Linked DNA regions of Homo sapiens: region 2 is linked to region 1. The links are contacts of gene promoters, found by promoter capture Hi-C in human tissues and cell types (Jung and others, 2019). All regions are on one chromosome and are shown on one strand. The core of a region is centred on a gene start or on the middle of the fragment in contact, and the rest is flanking DNA. Distances in the headings are between cores, read along the strand shown.

Region 1 (4,706 bases), core at 400-2,899:
GGCCAAATCCAAGCCTCTTTACCTCGCTATATATATATAGATATACATATTTGTCTCATCCCACTTCCCTCTCCAGGTCTAGTGAACCATCAACTCCAAGGCTAGAGCTGAGCAGACCCCTCCAGAAAGGCTCATCTCCCAAAAAGCAGCCATTCCCCACCTGGCTCCCGAGGCGCATACTTAATAAAGTCAGTCTAATCTCCGAACGCGATCCTTCCCCAAATACAAAAATAACAGAGCTGTGGCTGGGGCTGTCATGTTGCCCGCCCCATTGTGAATGGCTTCAAAACTCCCTGAATAAAGATAAGAGAGGATTGTGTACGTTTTCAACACAAATGGTGGAAAGTAATAAAATAAACATCAAAGGTGAGCTCCCACCTACTAGCGGCTCCGTCGCTTTTTGTGCAACAAAGGCAGGAAAAAGGAGGAAACTCGGCGTGGCAGGGCAGCGGGCTGGAAGTGCACCTTCCCGGGGCCGAGGCGCCCGCTCCCTGGACTAATGACGCCGCGTGGGGATCACGCCCCGGGCGCCCTGGGGTGAGGAACGGTCCCCCCTTTCGAGATTGTCCGACACTGGTGCCAGTGAGGTCACAGCAAAAGTCCCAAAGGAATATTGGAAAGAAATGGCCGTGAACCGGTTTGTTCTTGCCCCCGCCCCCGGGAACACGCCCTCTCCGTCGTTCCTGTTGACTGTCAGATCCCGGGAACCAAGCGGCGGAGCTCGGCGGCATCTGAGGCTTCCGCAGGGACACAAGTGCAGGCACAGCCCAGCACCCTGCGCCAGACACAGCCGCCCCAGGGGAAGAGGAGGACGCTGCTGTCCTCCCGCAGGAGTCACCAGCCAGGTAAAGAAAAAGGTAAAGTAAGACAAAGAAAAGTGAAAGTCGGAGCCCATTTAGTGAGCAAGAGTAAAGGTCATCCAAAAAGGCGCATACAATTTCAAGCCCAGGAGTGCATTCATTAAAACAAGAGGAAAAGACAAGATGGTCCTTGAAAGGAGCTCATAGGAAGGGGCACAGCACAAGGCTCCCGAAAGAGGTCACTGCAAGTGTCCTGCGCAATTTCTGTTCAGCACCTCTGCAGTGACGACAGGGGTTTGCTTTCGTAAGCAGCATCGTTTTCACTACTACAGAAGCACATACGCCGCGTGCAGCTTAGGCCCGAGCAAAGTCCCTGCTCCCCTAGACCCAGTCCCTTCAGGTGTCCCCCTAGGGGAACTGTGGCGTGTCCCCCCAACCAGGCGCACTCGCCTAAACTGCGTCCCCGAACTCCAGGGCGCAGGGAGCCCTCGCGGGCTGCCCGGGGCTGGGGCCCACACCTGAACGGAGGAGCCGGCTGGCGGAGCGGCCCCGCGCGCGCACACACGCACACTCACAGACACGCGCAAACCCACAGCGGCGCGCGCGCTCCCCATTGGCGGGAGGAGGAAGGCGGGGCCGGCCGACCCAAAACAAACAACCTGCGCCAGCGACTTTGCCGCCGCGCTGCAGTGTGGCCTCCGCCTGGTGCGCGCCCGTTGGGGAGCTGGGGAACTGGGGAGCCGCCACCACCTCGGCCACCTCGTTCCCCCACCCCTTGCCGTCCGCGCTCAGGCCCCGCCCCCGCGGAGCCGCCGCAGGGTTATATTGGGCCGGCCCGAAGGTGGAGGCGAGACGCAGCCGCGGCAGGCCAGCGGGGAGATGCTGCCCCGGAGGCTGGGAGCGGGAAGGCGGCTGCGGGCGCAGCGGCCTCGGGGACTCGCCTCCGCGGGTGCTCAAGGCTGAAGGCGCCGGACCTTCCCCCACGGTGGCACGCACATCATCCGGCACCATTTCCGTGCCCCGAAGACGCCCGCGCGGGACCTGGGACCGCCAGTGAAGAACCCCTCCTGGGCTCTTTAACGAGCAGCAGATGCGCATGCTGCTTCTCTCCGGCAGGAAAGCCTTCTAAGCCCGGCGTGCTCGGGCACCCGAGGGTGGAACCGCGGCCCCTGCACACACTCACCCCAAAGTCTCAACGTCGAACCGAAGGCGACACCCACCCAACTCCTCCCTCTCCGCCCCATAGTCCACCCAACACTTGCAGCCCCTCCAGAGAAAAAGCCCAGCGGAAGAGGACTCCGGAAAAGTGACTATCTCGGAAGACCAGGGTAGAGCTCCCGGGAGAAAAAGGCGAAGATCCCCGGCCCCGGATCGCCATCCCCTTCCCTGGCACCAGCTTCTCTAGGCTGCGCGAAGGAAGAGGGTACGACGCCGGGGAGGGACTGGGTGCGCGGGCATGAAGTTGGAGGTGTTCGTCCCTCGCGCGGCCCACGGGGACAAGCAGGGCAGTGACCTGGAGGGCGCGGGCGGCAGCGACGCGCCGTCCCCGCTGTCGGCGGCGGGAGACGACTCCCTGGGCTCAGATGGGGACTGCGCGGCCAACAGCCCGGCCGCGGGCGGCGGCGCCAGAGATACGCAGGGCGACGGCGAACAGAGTGCGGGAGGCGGGCCGGGCGCGGAGGAGGCGATCCCGGCAGCAGCTGCTGCAGCGGTGGTGGCGGAGGGCGCGGAGGCCGGGGCGGCGGGGCCAGGCGCGGGCGGCGCGGGGAGCGGCGAGGGTGCACGCAGCAAGCCATATACGCGGCGGCCCAAGCCCCCCTACTCGTACATCGCGCTCATCGCCATGGCCATCCGCGACTCGGCGGGCGGGCGCTTGACGCTGGCGGAGATCAACGAGTACCTCATGGGCAAGTTCCCCTTTTTCCGCGGCAGCTACACGGGCTGGCGCAACTCCGTGCGCCACAACCTTTCGCTCAACGACTGCTTCGTCAAGGTGCTGCGCGACCCCTCGCGGCCCTGGGGCAAGGACAACTACTGGATGCTCAACCCCAACAGCGAGTACACCTTCGCCGACGGGGTCTTCCGCCGCCGCCGCAAGCGCCTCAGCCACCGCGCGCCGGTCCCCGCGCCCGGGCTGCGGCCCGAGGAGGCCCCGGGCCTCCCCGCCGCCCCGCCGCCCGCGCCCGCCGCCCCGGCCTCGCCCCGCATGCGCTCGCCCGCCCGCCAGGAGGAGCGCGCCAGCCCCGCGGGCAAGTTCTCCAGCTCCTTCGCCATCGACAGCATCCTGCGCAAGCCCTTCCGCAGCCGCCGCCTCAGGGACACGGCCCCCGGGACGACGCTTCAGTGGGGCGCCGCGCCCTGCCCGCCGCTGCCCGCGTTCCCCGCGCTCCTCCCCGCGGCGCCCTGCAGGGCCCTGCTGCCGCTCTGCGCGTACGGCGCGGGCGAGCCGGCGCGGCTGGGCGCGCGCGAGGCCGAGGTGCCACCGACCGCGCCGCCCCTCCTGCTTGCACCTCTCCCGGCGGCGGCCCCCGCCAAGCCACTCCGAGGCCCGGCGGCCGGCGGCGCGCACCTGTACTGCCCCCTGCGGCTGCCCGCAGCCCTGCAGGCGGCCTCAGTCCGCCGCCCTGGCCCGCACCTGCCGTACCCGGTGGAGACGCTCCTAGCCTGAGTAGCGCCGCGGGGCCCGGGAACGCCGAGTGCGCGCCGTCGGGGAGGCGGGAACGCGGGCCCGCGCGCGGACTTTGCACTTTGAATCCAGAGGAAGATGAATTTTTAAAATCTCCATCAAACGTGCCTTAAAGCTAAAGCATTTTGACAGGAGTATTTAAACTTAGTCCAGGATATTTTCCTTTGTGTTTTATAACTTTACAGAGGACCAAAGCAATTCTTGTTTTAGTTTCTTTGCGAAGCCTGCTCCTCCTTCCCTTCATAAGGACTTTTTTTGTCTTTCTTTAACGCCCAGGCTTCGTCTTATTTCTACTGTTTTTGTCGCAACTTCCATTGATTTATGTCCCTTCCCTCCCCCCTAAGTACATCAGGGAACCTTTCCACACTATAAATGATATGACTACTGTTTGGGGTTTCTGGGCCCCCATCCGTGTACGTATGTGGCATTTCCAGGTATGACTGAGTGTGAGAGACATGTCAGAGGCTCTTCAGTGATTTCTTGCTATTGACCGATGCTTCACTGTGCCAAAAGAGAAAAAAAATGTTGGGTTTTGTAATTAAATTATTTATATATTTTTGAAACCCGAATTGAAAATGTTGCAGGCAACGGGCTACAGCTTTATTAGTGGTTCTCTAACTGTGGTCTCCTTGGGCCAAGCAATTTCTTTAAAGGAAAAGTTGATTATGTATGTGGGGTGCCAGGACCACTGCCTTGAAAGCAAGTGTGATTTTTATTTTTAATATTATTTTATTTGTGTCTGTGTACATATTCATGTATAAATTTTATGAAACCCAAGCATAGTGCTTATTTTTTAATAAAACAACTGACTTAACACATTGTGATGATGGGTTGGAAGTGGAGAGATTTTTATGTCTGTCCCCCCTCCCAAAAAAATGGGCTCAGGTTTTGGTCTCAAGAAACTTCCTCTGGAGATAAAAATATTTTCCTGAATAATTCGATAAAGGTATTATAGAATGGGCTTGCAGATTTCCGTATGAGATGCATTGCTAGACAGATTTCCAGATAGGACTTCCATTCATGGGCTTTTTAAAAGTTGAAAACCAATTACTCCTCTAATTAGTCACCTAAGTGCTTCCAGAACAAATGAGAGGGAAGTGTCCCTCTCTCCCCCAAGAATCCTTAGCAGGCAAGTTGAGTTCTTAACAAGCCTAGAGTCAAACAGATATTTTCAGGTAAATTGGTTTCGATTTGGGGCTCAAAAAGTTGGAGCCCCAATT
Region 2 (4,646 bases), core at 395-2,894, 52 kb after region 1:
GCTGTAACAATTTTGGGGTTTTTAAGGAGCTCATCAAGTCTATGTTTAAAATACTCAACTCCCTTTTTCCTTAAACTCTGAATGTTTTGTCCAAAAATAATGTCACAATTTAACTAGCACCATAATACAATTTGGAATTTTTTCTGTTGCGTAAGACACCATAAGGTAAATTCCTAACGTCTATAGAGCTGATGACCATCACATTTTCGTTGCCATTTACAATTTCACACAGTTTCTTGGGATTAGACTTCTCCTTTCATGACTGAGAGAATGCTCTGATACAGCAATTCTGTCCTTTTCGGCGCCTTTACACATGAGATGCTGCACGCTGAGAAAGCAAATCTTCTAATGTCCCTTTGGAAAGTCCATGACCCATCCTTAAATATAACAAAACGTGTTACAAATAAATTTCATTTTATTTTAGAATAAGATATTAGATTCTAGAATTGTAACAGTTTTAGACAGAATTATAAAATTTATAAAAGGGTTCAGAAAAAATAGGAGAATGCTATTGAAACAAGACAAAAACCGTACTTACTTTTTGTCATATTTCTGCACAGTTGCAGAGAAACTGTTGGGACTTCAATATAACAATTTATAAACATGATAGTAGACACAGGGAAGACAGACAGCAAGAACGCAGTGGAGGAACTAAGAACAAGCTGAGTTCATCTCTGAAAATGTGCCCCGAACACATCAACCCTACTAACTGAGAAGGTTCTGGAGGACATAAGAACACACAAGCCCATGTTTCACCAGCCATTGTGCAATATCTTCACACGCCATGTATCGTAGCCTCTGGAAAACCCTAGGGCACTCTCTTGTGAGAGTGATGGTGAAAAGAGGAAATACTGTCTTAGTATTATTATGAAATAGTTTCAACCTCACAGACCCCTGAGAGGGTCATGGAGACCCCAGGGATCCACACACCACATCATGAGAACACTACTCTAGATGACTTCCTTTGATCTTGAAGGCAGAATCCAGGAAGAAAAAAAAAAAAAAAAATCAAGGCCCAGGGAGCCTGGGCTTTCCCACAGCCTTGGGGCTTCCAACCAGGGTTGGGAGGTGCGTTTTTACCAGGAAGAGCCTCCTCCACACTCACAGGCCTTCTGCAGCTGCAGGCTTCCAAACCAGAAAGGACATTCGAGGCAGCCACATGGCACGCTTGCTTCTCCGCAGCTTTCTCTCCGTTCCTGGGGACATGTTCCACCTCACTGACAACCCTTCACATGTGCACGCCATTCTGGAGATGGGTCATAAACATTTGAACTATATTGGCTCAATAATGGGGACATTTTGGCTCCAGACTGTGCTGAACTTTGCCCATTCCAGAAATATCCCGTAAGACATTCCCAAGGCACTGAATGATGCAAACCACATTTATCCACTTACGATGGACAAAAATGTGACTGCAAAGCAGAACCTCAGCTTCTTCCCAGATAAAAGAGATGATGTGGACGGTGTTCATAATACAAAACTTCCATTTCCCCTTACTTGAAAACAACTTCCCATGGCTCACGACAGACTCCTGAAGTTTTAAGAATGATTTAGTGTAGAATCAATATCAAGCACCTCCTGTACCCTCTGCCCTCACGCGTGGGAGCAGGATACGGTCCAGCAGATGGCGTCATCCCCATGCTTCAGGAGTTTTGCAAATACTAATATTAACAGGCATAGCAGAAAAGCAGTAGTAACATGTCTGCGTCACTTATTATAGGCACAGTCATCAAGCATTAGCATTTACTCTACACATACTTTTTTAAAATTCTGCAATTTATTGGCATAGGACAGTGAGCAGTCATTCCACCCAGTCTCCTTAAGCAGTATTCCTCTTTCTATCTTATTAGCCAGCTTTCTATCTGGATTCGTGTGCTCCGGCTTCCGTAACAAATATCAGACACTGGGGGCTTAGACAACAAGCATTTATCCTCTCACAGTCCTGGAGGCTGGAAGTCTGATACCAAGAGGTGGGCAGGGTTGGTTTCTCCTGGTGCTCCTCTCCTTGGCTTGCAGATGGCGTCTTCTCTCTGTGTCTTCAAATGACCTTCCCTCTTAGTGTGTCTGTGTCCTCATTTCTTCTCCTTTTAAGGACAGCGTCTAAATTGGATTAGGGCTCACCCAAAGGCCTCATTTTAACTTAATTGCCTCTTTTAAGACTCTATCTCTAAATACCGTCACATCCTGAGGTCCTGAAGGTTAGGGCTTCAACATATGAGCTCTGGGGAGGCCAAATCCAACCCCTAACATTATCTTTCCTGTATCCTTCAGTGTTCTCTTACATTTTCTCAGGGAAGACTGGGCAGCAAACATTATCAGCCTTGTTCACCCATGAATCAACAGGCCTTGGCAAATATTTCTGGCATGTAGCAATGGTTCCATAAATATTTGTTGAAAAGATGAAAGTTTTATGAATGTTCACTTGTAGATCCATCAGCATCACAAACATAAAAATATTACAACCTAAGAATCCTATTCAAGTGACTCCATTCTATATTTTATAGCAAGAAACAGTCATTTATTCTCATACAAAGTATCCCAAATAATTGGATCCAAAGACTGTTACACGATGCAGTTATTAAGTTTTAAATTATTTTCTGAGTGGTAACTCAAAATAATTCTACGAATTTACTTAATGTCTTTACCTCTGTTAAGGTAAGAGAACTAAATAAACTTTTGAAGTATGATTTTCAGAATGAATAATACTTTCCCATGTTGCTGAGTCAAGTTTATCTTAAACTGTGCTGTCCATGGCCTCAAGCCTTCCATACTGATAAGTGATTCTGCATGTGAACACACACTTCCACAAACCACGGCATGTGCAGATTAAAGGAAAAGAGTTTTTGGTCAAAATTTCCCCACATATGCTCTCGAGCAATATCATTTATTATGTAAATAAGCTCCTTTAAAGCGTAAATGTTTAAAGCAGGAAACTAAGCAAATCTGGGTTGTTGGTTTTTTTTCTCTCCCTCTCTAAATAGAAAAAGGGATGCTTCTCAAGGCATACAGCAAAGTCAGGACATTTATATCTTCCATTCCATGAACTCATAAACATCTGCATTTGCATCTGGAGTTATACGGCCTGCGTATCTAAACCAAAATTCATCCGCACGCTGTATCTGGAAAATTATTCATCAGAAAGAAAAGTATTGCAAAATGTAGCTGGCTTCTTGAATGTCATGGAAAAAATTCCTTTAAAAAATAAATAAATAAAAGTTGTTCTGAACTCTGCAGAATTGGCAGGAAACTGAAGAAGTCCAGGATTTTTCTCTGCTGGTTTTAGTCTTCTTAAATACCGGGAGCCTTAAAATACCTTCACTGGGGGCAACAGAGAAAAACAGAAATAGCAGCATTGTGTCGGCCACAGTAGGCCATCCCATTCACACAGCAGCCTGCAAACAATCTCTCGTGCCACATTTAGGGAAAAACACAATTTTAGGAAATCCAAACAACCCGTAAACCCACTGACCTACAGATAACCTATTCGGCAACAATGAAACTTGGAAAAAGTAAAAGGGAAAAGAAACTCGCAAAGGAAAAAGAAGGCTTTCCTATCTCAGGAACTAAGTCAAAAGCCCAGGTATTTCAAATCCCTGCCTTCATGGGTCTGCTCTGGTTCTGAAGTCCTGTTGGGTAATTTACCTGTGCTATGTAAGTCACTATGGAAGACAGCTCAGCACCGTGGCTCTGAAGTGCAGGGAATGCCACACACACAGCTAACGCAGAGCAACCGGTCTCCAGGACACAGACGAACCTCGAGTTAAATTTCACCTCAAAAGCATAGGGGAGCATCGAGATTGTTTGCTACATGCTCAACCACTGCAGGAAATCATGCAAAGAAAACTATTATGGAGCTTGCAGGCCCTTCCCAAGTAAGGAGACACCTCAGAGAAAGAAGACTGTCATAGCTCATAGTGCAGACCACAGAAGGCAAAGATCCAGATAAAAACGGAGGCAAAAATCAAGCATGTGTGGACTTTTCCTAGAACCCTCCTTTGGCTGTATGAAAAGGCAGATGCAAGATGCCCCTCCATTCTGAATTTCATTCAAAACAAAAAGTATTTCAGAATTTTGTTTCCACATTCAAATTGTGATGACCTAGAAAAGCACAAAAACTTTGACTTGTTTGTTTGTTTTACTTCTCTCTTTGTCCCAGGGACAGAGGAATTTTTTTAAAATAAGGAAAATAGCAAAGCATGGTGGCTTACGCCTGTAACCCTAGTACTTTCAGAGGCCAAGACAGAGGGATCACTTGAGGCCAGGAATTCAAGACCAGCCTGGGCAGCATAGTAAGGCCCCCATCTCTACAAAAAAAAAATTAAAGATTATCTGGGCAGGGTTGTGCACACTTGGAGTCCCCAGCTACTCATGAGGCTGAGGCAGGAGAATCACTTGAGCCTAGGAGGTTGAGGCTGAGGTGAGCTAGGATCGTGCCACTGCACTCCAGCCTGGGTGATAGAGGGATACCGTCCCTAAAAATAAATAAAATTAAATAAGGAAATTAGCAAACTTTCATCAAGGTATTAATATCTATACCAAAGTAAGGAAGCCAGATCTAGGCCTTGGAATAACAAGCCTGAAGAAGCAGTGTTCTCTCAAAATCAAAACAGGAAAACCTAAGAGTTTTTTAAAGAAGCTTTTTACAC

What was found. The method cuts DNA at HindIII sites, captures the fragments that hold promoters and counts their contacts. A contact is called where the count stands out against the background at its distance.
Region 2: a contact is called between a fragment that was not itself captured here and the fragment with the promoter of FOXQ1 in region 1, in 1 of the 25 tissues and cell types used here (lymphoblastoid cells).

The regions. Positions count from the first base shown.
Region 1 is chr6:1,310,449-1,315,154 of GRCh38, forward strand. FOXQ1 (forkhead box Q1) reads left to right here and starts at 1,650. Exons shown (of 1, transcript NM_033260.4): 1 at 1,650-4,310. The coding sequence starts at 2,257. The coding sequence ends at 3,468. RefSeq lists an enhancer at 2,104-2,820. The HindIII fragment of the contact is 14,044 bases long and covers 174-4,706 here.
Region 2 is chr6:1,362,702-1,367,347 of GRCh38, forward strand. The region is part of intron 1 of FOXF2-DT (FOXF2 divergent transcript); the gene reads right to left. Among named protein-coding and RNA genes, the nearest start is that of FOXF2-DT, 24 kb to the right of the region's middle. The HindIII fragment of the contact is 7,838 bases long and covers 1-4,646 here.